Linked DNA regions of Homo sapiens: regions 2, 3, 4, 5, 6 and 7 are each linked to region 1. The links are contacts of gene promoters, found by promoter capture Hi-C in blood cells and fetal thymus (Javierre and others, 2016). All regions are on one chromosome and are shown on one strand. Each heading gives the region's core, a stretch centred on a gene start or on the middle of the fragment in contact. The rest is flanking DNA. Distances are from core to core; before and after follow the strand shown.

The links. Contacts are between HindIII fragments. The CHiCAGO score rates a contact against its expected background, and 5 or more counts as called.
Region 2: a fragment that was not itself captured here is called in contact with the fragment with the promoter of PODXL2 in region 1 in 2 of 17 cell types (megakaryocytes and erythroblasts); the score reaches 6.4 in megakaryocytes.
Region 3: a fragment that was not itself captured here is called in contact with the fragment with the promoter of PODXL2 in region 1 in 1 of 17 cell types (erythroblasts); the score reaches 5.3 in erythroblasts.
Region 4: a contact is called between a fragment that was not itself captured here and the fragment with the promoter of PODXL2 in region 1, in 1 of 17 cell types (M1 macrophages). The highest score is 5.4, in M1 macrophages.
Region 5: a contact is called between a fragment that was not itself captured here and the fragment with the promoter of PODXL2 in region 1, in 9 of 17 cell types (M2 macrophages, megakaryocytes, erythroblasts and 6 more). The highest score is 12.9, in M2 macrophages.
Region 6: a contact is called between a fragment that was not itself captured here and the fragment with the promoter of PODXL2 in region 1, in 5 of 17 cell types (endothelial precursors, M1 macrophages, M2 macrophages and 2 more). The highest score is 7.2, in endothelial precursors.
Region 7: a contact is called between the fragment with the promoter of KBTBD12 here and the fragment with the promoter of PODXL2 in region 1, in 4 of 17 cell types (M2 macrophages, M1 macrophages, endothelial precursors and 1 more). The highest score is 8.0, in M2 macrophages.

The regions. Positions count from the first base shown.
Region 1 is chr3:127,627,834-127,630,631 of GRCh38, reverse strand. It overlaps PODXL2 (podocalyxin like 2), which reads right to left and starts at 1,447. Exons shown (of 8, transcript NM_015720.4): 1 at 1,343-1,447. The coding sequence starts at 1,412. LOC107986126 (a long non-coding RNA gene) reads left to right here and starts at 1,669. Exons shown (of 2, transcript XR_001740892.2): 1 at 1,669-1,826. RefSeq lists an enhancer at 745-804 and silencers at 1,205-1,334, 1,445-1,514. The HindIII fragment of the contact is 9,170 bases long and covers 1-2,798 here.
Region 2 is chr3:128,060,742-128,063,539 of GRCh38, reverse strand. All of the region lies in intron 7 of SEC61A1 (SEC61 translocon subunit alpha 1), which reads right to left. Among named protein-coding and RNA genes, the nearest start is that of SEC61A1, 9.7 kb to the right of the region's middle. The HindIII fragment of the contact is 2,196 bases long and covers 408-2,603 here.
Region 3 is chr3:128,039,040-128,041,837 of GRCh38, reverse strand. All of the region lies in intron 2 of LOC102723759 (a long non-coding RNA gene), which reads left to right. Among named protein-coding and RNA genes, the nearest start is that of SEC61A1, 12 kb to the left of the region's middle. The HindIII fragment of the contact is 1,837 bases long and covers 428-2,264 here.
Region 4 is chr3:128,000,891-128,003,688 of GRCh38, reverse strand. No RefSeq gene overlaps it. Among named protein-coding and RNA genes, the nearest start is that of SEC61A1, 50 kb to the left of the region's middle. The HindIII fragment of the contact is 1,444 bases long and covers 662-2,105 here.
Region 5 is chr3:127,970,303-127,973,100 of GRCh38, reverse strand. All of the region lies in intron 5 of KBTBD12 (kelch repeat and BTB domain containing 12), which reads right to left. Among named protein-coding and RNA genes, the nearest start is that of KBTBD12, 56 kb to the right of the region's middle. The HindIII fragment of the contact is 4,244 bases long and covers 1-2,798 here.
Region 6 is chr3:127,952,181-127,954,978 of GRCh38, reverse strand. All of the region lies in intron 4 of KBTBD12 (kelch repeat and BTB domain containing 12), which reads right to left. Among named protein-coding and RNA genes, the nearest start is that of KBTBD12, 38 kb to the right of the region's middle. The HindIII fragment of the contact is 1,080 bases long and covers 807-1,886 here.
Region 7 is chr3:127,913,846-127,916,643 of GRCh38, reverse strand. KBTBD12 (kelch repeat and BTB domain containing 12) reads right to left here and starts at 1,412. Exons shown (of 6, transcript NM_207335.4): 1 at 1,058-1,412. The region is part of intron 3 of LOC107986129 (a long non-coding RNA gene); the gene reads left to right. LOC124909427 (a long non-coding RNA gene) reads right to left here. Exons shown (of 2, transcript XR_007096071.1): 2 at 1,978-2,298. The HindIII fragment of the contact is 5,822 bases long and covers 1-2,318 here.

The DNA of each region.
Region 1 (2,798 bases), core at 198-2,697:
CCCAGCCATTTACCCTGGGATTCTGCCACTCTGAGTCCCAGGTTCATGGCCCACCTCAGGCAAAGACTGTTCCTCCCTTCCCATAGAGACCCTTCACTAGTTTCTCTTTCACTCACACACATCTGGACACAAAGTGCCTGTGTCTTCATGGGCCAGCTGCGTGGGAAATGTCCTGTGCACACTCCTACATGCACATACACACTCCTACATGCACATACACACATCATACTAGGACGCTATTTTGACGTGTGCATCAGAAGTGAAGTTACAGCTGGCTGATGAGTGTGCACAGGCACACATGCACACTTCCTCATCCGGGTATTCCTCCAGCAGCACCAGTCACACCTTAACATACACCGTAACACACTCCCTCTGCTCTGCCAGTGTGTGCAGGAGCTGCTCAGCTATGACCTTATTTGACCCACCTTTGCAGACAGCCCTTCTCCCCGCCATTTCCATAGTGGCCGCCTGCCTCATGGGCTGTCACACCCCATGCCCACCTCCCTACACACCCCCTCCACTAAATCCCCGTCTGCGCTGGAAGCCATCAGGAGGCCCGTCTCTTTCTCTCTCAGGCAGACACATCCCTTTCACACCTGTGCCACACCCCCAGCCCGCCACGCACCCACACAGCCCGCCGCCCGGCGTGGCTGCTGAATGGAAACCACACATCTGAGTCTCACACCTCCCTCGTGTGTGAGCTGCGTGGGAGCCTCCCGCCGTGTGCTGTCACGGGCCTTCCGTGGCTGTACGCCCGTTTTTGTCAGCTCCTAATAGAGTCGCCCAGAACAGGAGAGAATACCCATTCACCGTGACACACTCACACTCCCTCCCGGCAACGCCACGCGTAAACAGCCACCCGCGCCTCAGCGTACCCGCCCCACACTCCGCAGGCGGCCCCTGGGACCTTCACAATGCGGCCTCCTCCCCGCGTGGCTGTCACACACGCCTCTTCCCCCGAGTGCGCAGGCACACAATGCACTCGCACACACACAAGCACACGCACACACATGCACACCCACACGTGCGCGCCCCCCCGGCCCGCGAGGCAGCAGCCTGCGCACCTGCCCCTGAGAGCCGCGGCGTGGGGGCCACGGTGCTGTGTCCCAGCTTCACCGCCGCGCCTTTGTCGGGGGTCGCCCGGCACGCCAGGCGCCCGCCGCGGCCCCCACGCACCCACTCCTCGTGCGCGTGTGTCGGGGCGGCGCCGCGGCCCGGCCGGGACACGCGCGCTCCCGGCGGCGCCGCACTCTGGCCCCTTTGTTGGCGGCCCGGGGAGCTGTCCAGCACCGCGCCCACGCCGCCGCCCGCCCTCCCGCGCTCGGGCCCGGAGCGCACTCACCCCCAACCAGCAGAAGCAGCAGCGGCGAAAGCAGCGGCGGCAGCCGGGCGGCCCGCAGCAGCCGGCCCATGGTGTAGCCGTCGCCGCCTGCAGCCGCAGCGGCGCGGCGCCCGGGCCCGCGTCAGGGGCCGCGCGGGCGGCGGCGGCGGCGCGCGCCCGCCCCATTGGTCCGCATGGCCGTCACTCACGCCCGGCCCCGCCCGGCCGCGTGCCGCGGGCGCGCCCCCGCGGAGACGAAGCGGACGCGCGGGCGGCCGTCCCTCCGCCCGTCCCCCCCGCCAGGCCGGCCAATCAGCACCGCCGAGGCTCGGGGGCTTGGCCCGGCCGCCCGCAGACCTGGGCCTCGCACCTCGCGCCCGGATGCCGCTCTCTCCCCGCGCGGTCACCCGTTCCCTGGGAAGCAGAGTGGGCAGCTGTGGCAGATGGGACTGATGGGACGAGGACGACGCGTGGAAATGACTGTGAGGGTGGACAGAGGCCTGGGGTAAGGAAAGACTTCTCAGGGTACTTAGATTGGGTGAGCCCTGAAGGAGAACCTGAGAGCAAAGAACTGGACTTTAGAGCTAGGCAGTCTGGCTCAGGATCAGATTGGTTCCGAGACCTTGAGTAAATCTCTTCTCACCTCTGGGCCCCACTTGCCCCATTTGCTAACTGGGGGGTTTTAGATTATGAGAGAGGTGCTGACTTCTCTAACATGTGCTCCCTTTTGGCAACTGAAGATCCTTAATATGCCAAGCACTGTAGTGGTAAATAAAACAGGCACATCCCTCGTCCTCATAGTTTAGGCTCGTAGAGAAAACAGACTGAAAAACAAAATGGACACACATATGGTCCTATGATTGCAATTGGTAGTCGGTCTGTTAAGGAGTATAAGGGGCTAGGAGACAGCACAGAGGGGAACCTTATGCTTGCCTTCCTGAAGAAACAGCATTTAAGGTAAGCTGGCTGGCATCTGGAAGGATGAGTGGGTATTAGGTAGGAGATTGGGTTTGGGAGAGAACTTACAAGGCAGAGGGAAAAGCTCACTGATAGAGTTCCTGAGTTAGAAAGAAGCTCAGCCTCTTTTAGGGAGAGAAAAACCCCGACTACCCTTTTAGAAGTACTGCAGCTTAAATATACAGCAACCACAATTTTGTGGAATGTTACTTTATATATACCATATTAGGAAAACACTTCTTTAAAATAACAAATCGTTATTTGAATATGCTTTTTCAAAGTATATCCCCACCCCCCTATGCAGGGGTATAGCATCAGACATTGGAGATAATCTCACGGGACTCTTCCAGACTAAATATTAATACTTAGGAGAAATAGGAGTTGGGGTGGAGGAGCATAGGGAAGAAATGGGTTCCAGACAAAAGAAAGAACATGAGCAAAATGTAGCACCTTTTATTTGGTGGGTGTTAGGGGTACTAGAAAAGTGGCTGTCAGCTGGGCTTGGAAAAGAGAAATCCAG
Region 2 (2,798 bases), core at 256-2,755, 430 kb before region 1:
GATGGTGAAACCCTGTCTCTACTAATAATACAAAAAAATTAGCCGAACATGGTGGCGGGCGCCTGTAATCCCATACTCAGGAGGCTGAGGCAGAGAACTGCTTGAACCCGGGAGGCGGAGGTTGCAGTGAGCCGAGATGGCGCCAATGCACTCCAGCCTGGGTGACAGAGCAAGACTCCGTCTCAACAACAACAAAAAGTCAAATAGGGACTGTATTTGATGGCCACTTTGGAGTACAATTAATTTTACATGACAGATTAAATAGGAAAGCTGAAACTGAAGGTCAGACTGTACTTAGAGGACCCATCTAGTACTGTGGAACTTGTCAAATGTGTCCATTCCCTTGTGCCTAACAGTGAAATAGAGTGAGATGTAAGAAATGAAGACACCCTACAAAAAGGAAAGCTTCTATTCAACCAAAATAACTTGGTAGCTGAGGGAATGGGAAGAGTAACCAAACTGATGGTATGTGGGGTTTGCCTTTTAAAAGCACATTAAATAAAAACTTGAGAAGGGATCACTTTAACCCAAAGGTAATAATTCTGTCCTCTGGACCCAGATCTGGATGGTGAGCCTAGAGAGGTGGCCCAAATCTGTAGTTCAGCTCAGGAGCCATCCAGACCCCAAGTGCCTGACATTGAGTTTCGGTGCTGCAGGTGTGACATCTCCAGATTGTGTCTCTGGATGCTGTCAGGAGTAGGTTCTGCTCCCTGATTTTCCTTTCATAGAACAAATCTTCCAACTTTCACTTTTACTCCTCCCATGACTAAAAAGCAAGTGAATCTAGGAAAAGGTGAAACTAAAGAACTCAAAAGCACTGTTCCCAAGTTTCTAACACGTGATAGCTAGGACCACCTGCTACATCTTCCTGGACCATTCCGAGATGACATGTCAGGCAGACCATCTAACCAATATGACCACTGACCTCCTCTGCTGTGGCTTCTGTGAAAGAGACACCATATCCTAACTGGCCATCATGTCCTCATCTCACCCTGTGGCGGTCTTTCGTCAATTCCCATCCTTTCCACCTTTTGGTCCTGTGTGACAAGGCTGGCCTGTTTCCCCACGGTTTCAAATTTGGGACTAATTCCCAGTTCTGCATTGTTCCTGCTGCCCAGGGAAGCAGCAGTGATTACTGTCTCTGCCTGTAGAATCTCATTCAACAGCCTCCCCTGTCCCAAGCCAAGCTGCAACATCTCCAGGCACAGCTGCAAAGCTGCCGTCCCAGCTGTGCCCTCTGTGTGGCTCTCCCTGCCCCTCCCTAGGCTCTCCCTCTAGCACCACTCACTGCCCACATGCAGGCCATGGGGCACAGCCCTTCCTGAATGCATCTCGTGTCAGCCAGGTCCCAAACACGAGCAACTGACATGTAGACACACTGACTTCAAGGCCAGACAAATCCACCTTTGCTTCTTAGTTTTCCCCCACCTTGAAAGTGCCTCTCTGGTCCCCTCTCTCAACTTGCTTCCTCCAAATGCCCTCACACAGTGCTCTCCTGTAGGATGGCTTAATTGGGGCTGGATTACTGCTGCACGCACCTAGCTGCTCTCTCTGCCTTTCAGTGCAGAGCAAATCACTTCTTCCAAACTCTGGCTCCCATTACTCAATGCCCTGCTGCAGAATGGAACATGAGCCTCTGGCGGCTACTACTGGGCTGCTAAGCCACCAGGGGCTCCCCTCTGACTTTACTTCCTTCCCACTCAGGCACTCCCCAAAAGCCAGTCACCATGATGGTCTTGACAAATACCTGAACTCCTACAATGCCATCCCCCTCTTGCCTTTTCACATCCTGTCAAACTTTGCCTTCTGGACCTGCTTCTCCCAATTTACCTTGGATTTCCTAAATTTATACAAAGTACTCAAGGAAGCATCAAATGTGATCTTGCCCACTCTTCTCTATGGCTCCCTATCTCAAGCTCCACTCTCCTTTGTAACCTGTTAGGCACATGCAGCCTTCACTTGTTTGGGGACCAGTTTTCCATCTCATTAATGAGATAATATGGTCTCTGGAGGCCAAGGACTCTGTTTCCAACATTCAATTAAAAGAAAACTCTCAAATATGCATGATTATTTCTCCTGGAATGCTCCTCAGTGAAGAAGATATTTAGTGCCAAAAAATGTTTATTTCCTTTCCCTAATAAGTCACACTCTCTAAGGCTTCCCTTGTATGTTTTGAACTTTTTATTAAAAACATGCTGTTACAAGATTTCCACGGCACTTGGTGGATGTAGCACAGCATGCCAATGTTTGATACACATCTACCAGGAGCCAGGCATCATGTAATTTCATGTTGCTTCTCACTGCATCCTGGTAACCAAGATTCAGTGGTGCAGGAATCTGCCCAAAGCCACGTATGTATGACTAACAGGAACAGCCAGGATTTGAACGCAGGTGCTAAGCTCCAAGTTCAGGCCTTTTTCAGAAAGCTGCCCCTTGCATGACCAAGTGCTTTGGTTTAGGAATTTCATTTTTAGAAACTTATTCACTGAGAGCAGCTGCCAAAATATACAAAGATGAACATATGAGGACAGTCATGGTTTCAATGTTAACGATAAAAAAACCTGGAAATGACTTAACGTTGCTTTATCGTTGCAATATAAGCTTATACTGTGCTAAGAAAAGTGAGGCAGGATTGTGTATTCTGACGTGCCAAACGTCCAGGAGATATTTTTATATGAAAAGTGCAAGTTAGGTATCATCATAATTACAAGCCTATTTGTGTTTTTAAAACTTTGCAGATGGACCCAAACACCAGAAGAGATAAACCTAAAACTGACATTATTTTTCTGTGGAATGGG
Region 3 (2,798 bases), core at 97-2,596, 410 kb before region 1:
AACCCCATTCTACAGAGGAACCTTGTAAGCTAGGTTCAGGAATTTGCCCAAGGTTTTTTAGCTATTAAGTGACATGAACAAATGGGAACCATAACCTTTGGGGATACTTTGCTGTGGCATTTTAAAAGTAACTAGTCTTGGGATACAGAATTACTGTAATCCTGCAGTGGCAGAGGGCAGGGAGCTGTGGGGGAGGACAGACCATTTCATTTTGAAAAACTGTCTCCAACCACACACCCCCGGCTCCTGCCTGCTGCCATATAAAATGCTTACCAGAACCCCAGAGCTGAGAATACAACCAGCTGTCTCATTTACTATTCTTACCCTCTAGGAAAGAGACAGAAAAATAAACACTCTGGAGTGTATTTTAACTCCAAATAATTTGAATTAAATATAGCAATTGTGAAATGTGTCATATGGACAAGCTTTGGAACCAAGTGGTTTGTTTATTCACTAAGTAGATATTGTCTGAATGTGGTAACAGAAGTTTCTTCTAGGGACCTGTCAAGGTACAAAGGGATTGTTCCTTGGATTTTTTTTCCTATGAAATTAAATAGTGGTAATACTATGATAAATGCTCAATATTCTGGAAGGACTTCAAGCTCATTTTCTCCAATCGCCTCAGCCTCATAGAGCATTAGTAGTCTGCTGTCTCTTACTGTAGGATGTTTTTGTGGCATTGGAACATCTCTCTAAAGGCTAAGAGCCCTCATAAAGTTGCTTACTTCAAAACTACGAATTTCAGATACTTTAAAAGAAATTTGATCAATCACAAACCCCATTTTCCCTTTGATAGGCTTTCATGATAGGTTTTGCCAAAACTTGCAGTGGCTGGCTGTGGTCTTGGAAATTTAGATTTGGGGAAGCATTTATTGTCACTATGTCTGAGCCAGGTCACTAGGCTGTGTGTGGTAACCAACATTATTCTCATAAGATATTCACTACTCCTTGCTCAGATAGCTTAACAGCAACCTCAGCTATCAAGAGTACAGCCTAGAGGAAGTCAAAGGAGGTGCGCTGTGGCTGCCCAGAGCTCATGCCCTTTACTCTTCAAAAAATTATTTCAGAAACTATTTGCTTCATAGAGGCACAGTTGAGTGTATGTATAGATTGTTTTCTGAGAAATAATTTGAATATTATCAAATTCACCTATTTAAAGTGCACAATTCAGTGGCTTTTAGTATATTCACACTTTTGTACAAACATCACCACTATCTAATTTCAAAACTTTTTCATCAACCCAAGATAAACCCCATATCCATCAGCAGTCATTATCCATTCTTTCTCCTTCCACCCCAAGTTGCTGGCAACAACTAATCTATATTCTTTCTATGGATTTTCATTTTCTGAACATTCCAGACAAATGGGATCATATAATATGTGGTCTTTTTTCACTTAGCATAATGTTTTCAAGGTTCATTCATGGTGTAGCATATATCAGCATTTCGTTGCTTTTTGTGGCTGCAAAATATGCCATTGTGTGGACTGTAGAATGGGACATGGCACTTACCGTTTCAGCAGTTGCTTCCACTTTTTAGGTATTATGAATAATGTTGGTATGAACATGCACACACAGGTTTTTGCATGAATCATTTGCTTTCAATTTTCTGATATATGTAGGAGTGGAATTGCTCGGTCATAAGGTAAATCTATGTTTGACTTTTTGAGGAACTGCCAACTGTGTTCCAAAGCAGCTGCACCATTTTACATTCCCACCAGCAATGTAAAAGGGTCCCAGTTTCTCCATATCCTCAACAATACTTGTCACTGTCTGTTTCTTTATTATAACTAGTTTAGTGGATGTGAAGTGGTAACTCATTGAGGTTTTGATTTGTGTTTCACTAGTGATGCAAAACTAATGATGTTAGACATATTTTTGTATGTTTATTGGTCATTTGTATGTTTTGTTTGGAGAATATTCAAATACTTTGTTGATTTTTAAATTGAGCTGTTTGTCTTTTTATTGTTGAGTTGTAAGAATTCTTTATATATTCTGAATATAAAGTCCCTTAACAGATATATGATTTGTAAATATTTTCTCCCATTCTGAAGATTGTCTTTTTACTTTCTTTTTTACCACGCCCAGCTAATTTTTGTATTTTTAGTAGAGATGGGGTTTCACCATGTTGGCCAGGCTGGTCTCGAACTTCTGACCTCGTGAGCCACCTATCTCAGCCTCCCAAAGTGCTGGGATTACAGGCATGAGCCACCGCGCCCGGCCATCTTTTCACTTTCTTAAGGGTAAACTTGGAAGCATAAAAGCTTTTAATTTTGAAGAAATCCAATTTTTTTTTCTTTTGTTGCTTGTGCTTTAGGTGTTACATCTAGGTAATTATTGCCGAAGCCAAAGTCAAGAAGATTTACACCTATGTTGTCCTCTAGAAGTTTATAGTTTTAGCTCTTACATATAGATCTTTGATTCATTTTAATTTTTGTTTGCATATCAGTGTCTAGCTGTCCCAGCGAGAGTTGTTGAAAAGACTGTTCTTTCCCTCATTGAACTGTCTTGGCATCCTTGTCTAAAATCAATTAACCATAAATGTATGGATTTATTTCTGGATTCTCAATTATATTCTGTTGACTTATATGTCTCTCTATCTTTATGTCAGTACCACATAGTCTTGATTATTGTACCTATGCACTATGTTTTGAAATTCAAAAATGTGAGTCTTCCAACTCTATTCTGAGATTATTTTGGCTATTCTGGGTCCCTTGAATTCCATATGAATTTTAGGTTCAGCTTTTCAATTTCTGCAAAGAAGCCAGCTGGAATTTTTGTGGTAATTAATGAATATTGC
Region 4 (2,798 bases), core at 134-2,633, 370 kb before region 1:
TGTATTTTTAGTGGAGAAGGGGTTTCACCATGTTGGCCAGGCTGGTCTCGAACTCCTGGACTCAAGTGATCCAACCACCTCGATCTCTCAAAGTGCTGGGATTACAGGTGTGAGCCACCGCACCCTGCCATGATGTAAGCATTTAAAGTTGTAAAGTTCACTATAAAAACTGATTTAGCTGCTTCTCATAAATTTGATAGGCTACGTTTTTATTTTTACAGAGTTAAAAATATTTCTAATTTCTCTTATGATCTCTTCTTTGACCCATGGGTAATTAAAAGTGCTTTGTTCAATTTCCAATTGTGAGGGATTTAAATGATATCTAATTGTTACTGATTTCTTTTTAAACTATATTTTAGTTAGAGAACATACTCTGCCTGTTTTTAGCGTTTAACATTTATGAAACTTGTTTTGTGGTCCAGCATATGGTTTATTTCGATGATGGCTCTATGTGCGCTGAGAATGGACATTCTGCCATTGTTAAGCGTGAGATGGTTAAATTGGCTGACCGTGTTCGAGTCTTCTGTGTCCTTATTGGAAGAGGAGTGTGGGAATCATGCATGAGAATTGTGGATTTGTCTGTTTTTCCTTTCAATTCTGCGTGAGAATCACACATGAGAATTGTGGGTTTGTCAGTTTTTGTTTCATGCGTTTTGAAGCTTTGTGATTAGGCAGATGCACATTTAGGATTATGATGTCTTTGTGATAAATTCACACCTTTATCATTAAGAAACATCTCTATCCCTGGTAATGTTTGCCCTGAAGTCTACTTTGTCCGACAAGAATATAGGCACTCCGGCTTTTGAAAAAATGACTAGTGCTTGCATGATATATCTTTTCTATCTTTTTATAGTTTATTTGTGTCTTTATATTTAAAGTAAGTTTCTGGTAGAGAGCATACAGGTAAGTCTCACTTTTTTTGTCCAGTCTGATATCTGATTTTCCAAGTCCCTCGATTATTTATACTGAATGCAGGTATCCTTATGTCTGTATTTATACCTGCCATCCTGCTCTTTTTTGAGACGGAGTCTCACTCTGTCGCCCAGGCTGGAGTGCAGTGGCGCGATCTTGGTTCACTGCAACCTCTGCCTCCCGCGTTGAAGTGATTCTCCTGCCTCAGCCTCCCGAGTAGCTGGGATTACAAGCACGTGCCACCACGCCCGGCTAATTTTTGTATTTTTAGTAGAGATGGGGTTTTATTATGTTGGTCAGGCTGGTCTCGAACTCCTGACCTTGTGATCTGCCCGCCTCAGCCTCCCAAAGTGTTGGGATTACAGGCGTGAGCCACCGCACCTGGCCTTCAACAACAAATTGTTAACAGTTTTACCTTCCAGAGCCAATTATGTTCCAAAGAGATTCAAAATGAGAAAAGGGTTTTCATATGAGTGATGCATTTTCCATTTCCCAAACTCTTCATTCTCTCCTGTAGTTCCAGGCTTTTCATCCGATATCATTCGCCTTTGGTGTGAAGAACTCCTGTCAACATTTCCCGTATTGCAGGTCTGCCGCTGGCAAAATCTCTAGCTTTGGTTTGTTTGGAAAAGTCTCTATTTTGTCTTCTTTGGTTGCAGGATATAGATTTGTAGATCCCCGGCTTTTTCTTGCAGATGCTGTTTCATTGTCTCCTTGTCTGCAGAGTTTTTGAGGACGTGGCCATTCTTGCTTCTGTTTCCCTTTACCTCGCATTCTCAGCCATTTCATTAGGATGTGCCTTTGCTAGTTGTCTCAGGCTGGCTTCCCTGGAAGCAGATGAAGGAGTGGAGTCTGGGGCACCAGGTGTTTCACACTTGTGACAGGAGGAGGCAGAAGCAGGCTTGGCAGTGGAGTTCAACCTCGGTCAGGCCTGCCCACCTCTGCCCACCTGTTGGGGACTCCAGAGCAAGGCCTTCCATCAGCATGTTCTGTGCTGAGCTGAAATGGCCAGATCTTCACATTCCCTGCCTGCTCAGTCACCTGGGCTGTCTGGGAAGGTGTGGCCTTTAGCCAGTGGCTCTCTCTGCAGGTGAGGGATGGGGAGGAGCTGGTGGCTGAGGGCGTTCTGCAGCCTGCGCTCCCCACAGCCTCTGGGCAAGTCCTTCCAGGAGGGGATGCTGAGGGACAAAGCTTCCTGCTTCTCAGGCGGGGGTCCTTGAGCTCCCTGGAACTCTGCATCTATGATTTTCATCAAATTTAGAAGATTGTCTTCCAATGTTTTTCTTGTCTCCTTCCTGGTACCCTAATGATACATGTATTGTTTGATAGTATCTCACAGGTAACATTTCCAGTTCTGTTCATTTTATTTCAGCATTTTTCTCCCAGTGCTTCAGTTCAGTTTCTGTTGCATTGTTTTCAGGTTCATTGATCTTTCCTTTGTCAGTGTGTGATATGCTGTTAATCTCAGTCAATACGTTTCTCATTGCAGGTATTGTATATTTCACCTGTAGAAATTCCATTAGGTTCTTGGTTATATTTTCCATATTTCTCCTCATTATGTTCATGTTTTTTTCTTTAAATTCTTGAGCATATTGAGCATATGTCTAATAGCTTCTTATTTTATTATTAGTTTTTTTTTTTTGGAGACAGATTCTCGCTCTGTCCCCCAGGCTGGAGTGCAGTGGCGTGATCTCGGCTCACTGCAAGCTCCGCCTCCCGGGTTCACGCCATTCTCCTGCCTCAGCCTCCTGAGTAGCTGGGACTACAGGCACCTGCCACCATGCCTGGCTAATTTTTTGTATTTTTTTGGTAGAGACGAGGTTTCACCATATTAGCCAGGATGGTCTTAATCTCCTGACCTCATGATCCACGCAACTTGGCCTCCC
Region 5 (2,798 bases), core at 169-2,668, 340 kb before region 1:
ATCATTATTAATGATGATTATTTGATTACAGCGGTGGCTATCCAATTTCTCCATTGTAAAAGTACATATTTTTTCATGTTGTAATTAGTCTGTGATTTATCAGGTAATATGTCTTCAGTGCCATGTGACTATCCTGTTCTTTATAACCTTTCAACCGATGCTTTTAGCATCCATTGATGATTTCTGACTGAACCAACTATTATACAAATTAGGATCTTGGCTATCCTTCTATCATGACTTCTACATTTATTACCTGGCTTTTGATTCAATGTGTTTCAGTCAATTATAGTCAATTACGATTTTTGATGTTTGAATTATTTTGAATCTGGCCAGTGACTGCCCTTTCAGGCTGGTTTCTCTGTCTTTTCATGACTCCCTTAAGTCTTTGACAATGTACCTGCTTTCTGGTGTAACAGGATATCTGAACCTTACCTTGCAATTTCTGTGCTCCAAACCTAGAATCAGCTATTTTGTGAAGAAGCACAACTACATTCTAAGCAGCTAGCTGAGTCCATCATCCAACAATACAGCAACTTCCTTATTTTGCCCTCAATGAGCTCTGTTAGGGCTGGAACCAAACATGTTTGTATGTGTATCTTTGGGGTTTAACATGGGCTTACTACCTAGAAAGGCATTCAATAAAGGTTTGTTGAATGAAAACCCAACAGACATCAGCCAGGCTCTTAACCCTGACTGCATGTTAGAAAAATCTGAAGATTTTTAAAAAATATTGATGCCCAGGCCCCATAACCAAATATTCTGATTTGATTTGTCTGGTATGGAGAGACAGTTTAGCCTACTGCTAAAAATATAGACTTTGGGGCCAGACTATCTAACTTTGAATCCCAAATTCAACATTTACCCTCTGTTTGACTTCTTTAGATGGCTTCAGTTTCTGCACCTTTAAAATAAGGGAAATAATAGTTGCAGGCTGTTGAGAGAATCAAATAAATTAACACATGCAAAGTGCTTAGAATTTTCCCTAGCACAGGGTAACCAGGTAACTGTCAGCTGTCAATTTTAATCTGCATTGGTTAGTAAAAGAATTCATTTTTGAAGTACTTCCCAGTGCATTTTCTCTTTCTGATAATTCAGATTTGTCCTCGACAGGCTTTTCACCATTAAGACTGTGCCACAAGACTAAACTAGAGGAGGCAGAGGGGTGATTTGAGGGAAGTTCTTGCTGGACAGATGGAGGAGGTAGAGAGCATTTCCAGTCCTGGGTGAAGGAAGGAAGATTTGGAGGGGCTGATACTAAGGTGAAAATGTTGTTTGGGTCCCCTAGAAGTTAGCCAAAGAAGATGATGAAAATGGCTCAGATGGGCTGAAGGCAGAAGGGACTTAGCCTGGACTCTGGGAAGAAATCCCCCTGCCCACAGCGGGTCCCACTGGCAGCCAGTATAGAGTTGAAGTGGAGAAACAGGAGGCCTCCCTGCTCCCTCAGCCTGCTCCCTGAGCTCCCCTGCCATCCTGGAGGAAGGGAAGACAGCCACAAGTGGCAAACAAGTGTGTACCGATGGGCTGCCATAGTAGGGAATGGGGGGACCCTGCACCAGAGTTCGGGGAAACAGACAGAAACCAGAGCCTGGCAAGAATATGCAGTTGAGTCTCAAAGGGCCAACAGCTGGAACAAGAGCCAAAGTGGGGGCTTTGTCAGCAGGGAGAAGGCTGAGCCCTCTGGGAGCAACTCCTCTTTGTGAGATATACAAGAATCCTGAGGGCACACTTGAGCTAGAAAACATGAGAGTGGCTCTTCGGTATTCAGTTCATTATGATTATCACCAAGATGCCCTCTGTCCAAGCCCACAGGGTCCCTTAAAAGGCAGGATTTCTGCGTGCCAACCACAGGAATCTTTTGCAGGTACCTAAGGCCACAGTGTTGTCATCCCTTGGATGTTCTTATAGCAGGGAATAGTTTCCTGCCACTAGGTGTCATCTGCCACCACTGTCTTCTCTGTCTCAGGAAGCCTAATTCTGTCTCTGGAATGGGCCATTTCTGCCTCTTTCACTCAAGGAACCTGCCTCTAAGCACCCTCACCATGGGCAGTTCAGCTTAATTCTCCTCATTAGTGTCAAACACCAAGCTGATTACTGTGAGGATATAAGAGAAGGAGTTCTGACTTTTTCACTTTAACAACAGCTTTATTGAGGTATAGTTCATATATCATAAAATTCACCCCTTGAAAATGTATAAAAAAATGGTTTTTTAGTATATTCACAGAGTTGTGCAGCCATCACCACTGTCTAATTTCAGAACATTTTCATCACTCCCAAAATAAATCCTCTGCCCATTAGCAGTCACTACCCATTCACCCTTTCTCCATTTTCTGGCAATCACAAATCTACTTTCTGCCTCTATCCATCTGCCTTTTCTGGACATTTCATATAAATGGAATCATGTGATATGTGGTCTTTTGTGATTGCCTTCTTTCACTTAGCATAATGCTTTCAAGGTTCATCTATGTTGTAGCAACTGTTAGTATTTCATTCCTTTTTATTGCCAAATGATATTCCACTGCTTAAATAGACAGTATTTTACTTATTTGTGTATTTTACTTATCTGTCCATCTGTGGATGGACACTTGGGTTGTTTCCACTTTTTGGCTGAGACGAATGCTGCTGCTGTGAACATTCAGGTACAAGGGTGGGCATATATTTTCAATTCTCTTGGATATATACCTAGGAGTGGGATTGCTGCATCGTATGGCAACTCTGTGTCAACCTCTTGAGGAACTGCCAGACTTTTCCAGAGCAGCTGCATTATTTTATATCACCAGCAACGTATGGTGGTTTTGATT
Region 6 (2,798 bases), core at 97-2,596, 320 kb before region 1:
GTATAGTGTGACAAGGGCAGCGACTGGCAAAGCAGCATGCTCTTCGTTCTGACCAAAGGATTACATAAACCACTACAAGGAGATGGGATTTTTGCCAGATTTTGAGGATGTTGAGTTAGGCCCTACACGCAAAGGGAACAGGGTAAACAAAGGCACAGGAGGAAAGCATGTTCAGGAAGTGACCCCCAGTCCCTGTGGCTGGCGCTAGGCTTTGTGGGGTGGAGGAGTGGCAGGAGGAGCTGAGGCTGCAGGGGCAGGCTGGGGCCACGTGTGAAAGGTCTACTGCCTCCATAAATAGATTCTGGCCTCACTTTCTATATTTGATTTTGCCTGACCCATCAAGCTGAAGCAACTTTTGAACGCAATTTGACATTTTAAGAACACTTGATGGAAATCCAAAGCATATTCATGAATACACATTTTCATTTCAGAAGGAAGCATAATTTATTCAAGAGCATAACTAATAGTATGAGATCTAAAATGCTTTCCAGTTTATCTTACATGCAAACTTCTTTTCTAAGAGACAGCCCCTGGTACCATATTTAAATCAGTATTTTATAACAGAAGCATTCACCAAGGACTCATAATGAGATTTCAGTGAGGTTGAACCCAGAATGTTCTACCTTCCCCCAAATTTTACTAATAGGAGTCTGTATTTGATTCATTTTCTACTTTATTATTCATAAAATGGATTTAAAACCTTGAAAACAAGGCATTAATATTTTCTACAGCAATAAGATATATTAACCTAAAATTTCTGGACTACCTTTTTAGGCAATTAGGATGTATTTTAGATTAAAGAAGCTTAACTAGCTCTTATAATGAGCTTTCACTGTACAAATGACAAAAGATTTTTCCTTAGAACTAAGGCACCTTCCCTTTGGTCTCCTCCTGCATGTCAGTGGTTCTGTCATTAAACAACAGACCACTCCTTTCTGCACTTCCTAACAAAAATAGTTACGTTCCTGAGAAGGGCCTCAGGAAAAAAAAGTCAAAAGGAAAGCTGGCTGGTTTTAAATACCTGTGTTTCCACTTAGGGTATCATTGACTCATAAGACTTATATAGACTAAATTATTTTAGGCTTTCTAGGAAGTTATCCAACAGAAGAGCCAATTACAGTGTGGCAAAGCTGACAAAATGCACATGTAACCACATGAGCAATGGAGTCACTTGAGCAATCTGGCCATATCTATTCCTTTATTTTTATGTTAAGAAGGCAATTTATAGATTTCCAGGAAAAACTATCCAGTATATGACTAATATGCCCCTTGGCTAGTTTGCCATAATTCCAGAAGCTGTTTTCATCTAAATTCAAATTATTCATGGTATCTGTGACAACACACTTTTTAAAGACAAACATTTACACGAGAAAAATTCAGCATAGGTTTTAACTGAAGTCCATATTCTAAAATCTTTACAACTCAAAGCAAACCTCCAGGGTCAGTGCTAGCCACAATGTCCGGTAATACAATGTTTTCATCTTTAATTCCTATTAGAAGAGTACATTCTGGACAATATTTTCAAAGAGTTCCTTACATGAAAATGTGTACCTGGCTCCATACAGAAAAGCAGGCTGTGTGAATGTGCAGTAAGTATGTCATTAGCGCATGTTTACAATAGGAGGAAATGAAGAAAGTAGAAAGACTCAGTCCTTTGACTCCCAACGCATGAGGACAGAATGACCTCATCTCAGTATGCCTCCTCATTTGGGCCTGGCAGGGCATTAACAATAAGATGACGGGCTGAACATTATTAGGACACTAAAGCACAGTGGACTCTTTGCCACTTACTATAAGCAATAATGATTGTTATAACTCTCATCTATTGAGCACTTCTCATATGCCAAGCACAGTGTTCAGCATTTGGCATAATACTCTCTTAAGCTTTGCAACAACTGCATGAGTTAATAATGTATTATTATCATCCTTATTTTATGAATAAAGAAAACAGATTTAGCAAAATTCAGCAACTTGCTCAAAATCACATGGTGCTATTAAGTTGCAGAGATAAGATTGGTCTGCAGAAGGACCTTTCCTTTCTGTGGCTTATTTCTGTTAAAGAATACACCTGGGAAACCTTTGTACACATGAGATTTACTCAGAAAATTTATAAAAAATGTAATAAGGTAAAGGCAAGGGCCATTAACCAAATGATTCCGATTATCCTGCTTGCCTAAATCTTTCCCTGTGGTGGTTAGATGCTGCCTGTTACAGTAACTCCTCATTTAACAGGAAGTCAGACGATTGCTAGTGCCCAGAGCACAAGTGAAAACCCTGAGCAATGTAAAACAAGTGTCTGAGTATTGGTGCTGTGATAAAAGACCTTGAATTTTATTCTGAAAAAACTGGAGACATTGTTAATGACACAAGGTCTAATGGCCTAACTGTATGTGTAATCTAAACATATGTACAATTGCCTGCATATATAGTCTTGTATGTAAAATCTATTTATATGTATGATTGATGCATAATCTTGTATGTACAATCTGGTAACATAACAGGGAGAGAGCAACAAGAAAAGAAATGGTAACCAACAGCAGTGGGAAGGAGAGGAAAAAAACCCATGAAACCCTGTAATTTGTGGCCTTCTAGTTTAGGGAGCAAATACAGTAGTACATTACTCAATGGCCAATGGACATCACTCACATATAGAGAAGCACAATTTTTGATGCTCTTAATGACTGAGATATTTTAAAAAGTTATTTTAACTTTAAAATTGGACAGATCCGTGTTTGAACCCTGGATTTAGTCACAATATTTGTGTAATAAAAATAAAGAATTTACTTTTGTAGGATATT
Region 7 (2,798 bases), core at 163-2,662, 290 kb before region 1:
TACTGAAAAAAATGAAAGGTATGGCAACACTGAGTCCTTAATTCCCAAGCGGCAACAATGTGCAGGACCTGAGTACCCAGCTGCCACCTCTCAGCTGGCACATCTGCTGGGCCCCATTATCCTCTTTGAGACCTGAGGGACAGTCATTATTTGTAATTCTTACGCTGTTGCTTTTCTCTTTCCTGTCCATTTACATTATCCTACAGCCATTTAAGTTTGTGACCCCCAGTTTATACGATTACGTCTCCACACCCTATTTTGTTTCAGCAACACCATCTTGCTAAAATCCTACGCTTGCAGAGGCTGGTAGGAAATGGCTGAGAACACACGCACCACCCTAAATGTACTCTGTGCTTCTCACTAGCATGGAAAAAGACCTGATTCATTTCATAATAATCCATCCCACACACCGGGCATCCAGTAACAGCCAGGCACATGGATGATAAAGACAAATAAGACCAGTTTTCTTTTCTTTTCTTTGCCGAGTTCACACTGTTTTGCATTCTCACAGTGCTTTATACTTTTCAAAGTGCTTTAATCCGCATTATAGCTCATTAGTTCCTCTTAAGAATCATTTGGGGGAAAATGTAGGGCAATTATTCTCCTGGCTTTAAAGTTAAGAGAGTTGCTCAGGGATACATTCAGGGTTTATTAAACTTAAACGAACCCTTCTAAGTGCCAGGCACTATCCTAGGTTCCGGGAAGACAACCAGGAACAGGGAAGTGCCCCTTACCTTTGTTGTGCTTACAGTCTAGCGACGGAAGGCACAATAATACATTGGTCAGGTAATTCGGAGGATGATAATACTATGCAGACTACGAGCCTGAACAACCCGACGGTGAAGGTCGGAGACGGCAGAGATGGCCTGGAGGAGCAGCTCCTGGGAGCCCCACCTGACGCCAGGCGCCGGCCCACTGCGACTCGAAGGAAGTCACTTAGAGCCGAGGCTGCAAGTGCCGGTGGCCCCGGGTCGGCGCCCAGGTTCAACCTGGCCCGGAGTTGAGGCAGGGCTTGTGACTGGGGGCCGCGTTCCCCCGGGGCGCTACCCCTACTTACGAAGGTGCTGCCTGGTTCGGGGCGCGTCCCCACTCGCTGGGCCACGACCTGGCTTGGACGCTACCGTGTGGCAGGGCGGCCAGCGGGCCTGACTGAGGCCACTGCCCAATATGGGCCTGTGCTGGCTGGGCGATATAAATAGAGGTCCCGCGCCCTGCGGAGGAGGAGGGAGGGCGCTGGCAGCGCCTCCGAGGGGACAGGTGCTGCCCTCTGCTTGGAAGTGGCCCGAGACCACGCCGCCGCTGCCCTCCAGCCACTGTGCGCCTGCGCACCTATTCCCGCGCTGGTTCCAGACGGCGACTACAGCCCCGGTGTCGCTGCACAGGGTCTCCCCGCGCGCGTCCCGTACCCTACTGAGCGTCCCCCGCGGAACGCTGTGCGCCTGCGCAGAGTGTTCCCGCGCTGGCCCGCGTGCCAGAGCGACTGAAGGCCTGCGGGGAGGGGATGGGGACAAGTGTTTAAAGGAGGTTTGGAAATCGAGCTTTGAAAAATGCCGGTGTTCCCGTTAGTCTTTTACACTTGCAAAATGACCAAAAGACCCCGTGTGTAGTCTCACTGTGACCGGGGGGTAGGGTTGCCCGGTAAAATACATGAGCCCAGTTAAAGGTAAATTTCAGATACACAACCAGTAATTTTTAGTGTTAAGTATGTCCCAAATATCGCATGGTCAATTCACGTTTAACTCGGTGTTCCGGTTGGGTTTCGTTTTGGTCTTGTATTTTTATTTGCTACATCCTGAGCCATCAGCTTGTGATTTTTATACCCTACACCTCTCTGAGAGTGGGAGGTTTCCAGGAGTCCCGAGAAAGGACTGGTTAGCCGGGAGCAGTGCAGGGATGGGAAGTCTTCCTTAGGCAAGTGTCATAAAATACGGCAGCTGTATTAGCTCAGTTAGCTTAAACCAAAGCAAAATAAAACTGTTTTCAGTGGTGGCAACATAACTTTATTATCTTACTATTATTTTAGCTCTGTAGGTCAGAAGTCCAAAATATGTCTCACTGGATTGAAATCAAGGTGTCAGCAGGACTGTGTTTGTTTCTGGGGCTTCCTGGAGTGAATCTGTCCCTGCCCTTTTGCAGCTTCTGGAAACTGTCTTCATTCTTTTGCTCCTGGCTCCTTCCTCCAGCTTCAAAGCCAGAAAATAGGGCTGAGTCTTTCTCACATGCATTGTGTCTGCAGTTGGTTCCTTTCAGTGGGCTTGTGGTCTCCATCTCGCTAACTTCAAGAATGAAGCCACGGACCTTAAATGTTAAAGAAAGCTTTAAAGGTCACATGGACCCAAACAGTGAGGAGCAGCAAAATTTATTGTGAAGAGCAAAAGAACAATGCTTCCACAACCTAGAAATGGACCTGACTGGGTTCCCTGTGTTGACTGGGTGGCCAGCTTTTATTCCCTTATTTGTCCCTGCCCATGTCCTGCTGATTGGTCCATTTTACCAAGTGCTGATTGGTCCATTTTACAGTGTGCTGATTGGTCCATTTTACAGAGTGCTGATTGGTCCATTTTACAAACCTCTAGCTAGCCACAGAGAGCTGATTGGTGTGTTTTTACAGAGTGCTGATTGGCCCATTTTAGAAACCTCTAGCTAGCCACAGAGCGCTGATTGGTGCGTTTTACAATCCTAGCTGCAGAGTGCTGATTGGTGCATTTTACAATCCTCTTGTAAGACAGAAAAGTTCTCCAAGTCCCCACCCAACCCAGAAGTGCAGCTGGCTTCACCTCTCAGCATCACTTTGACAC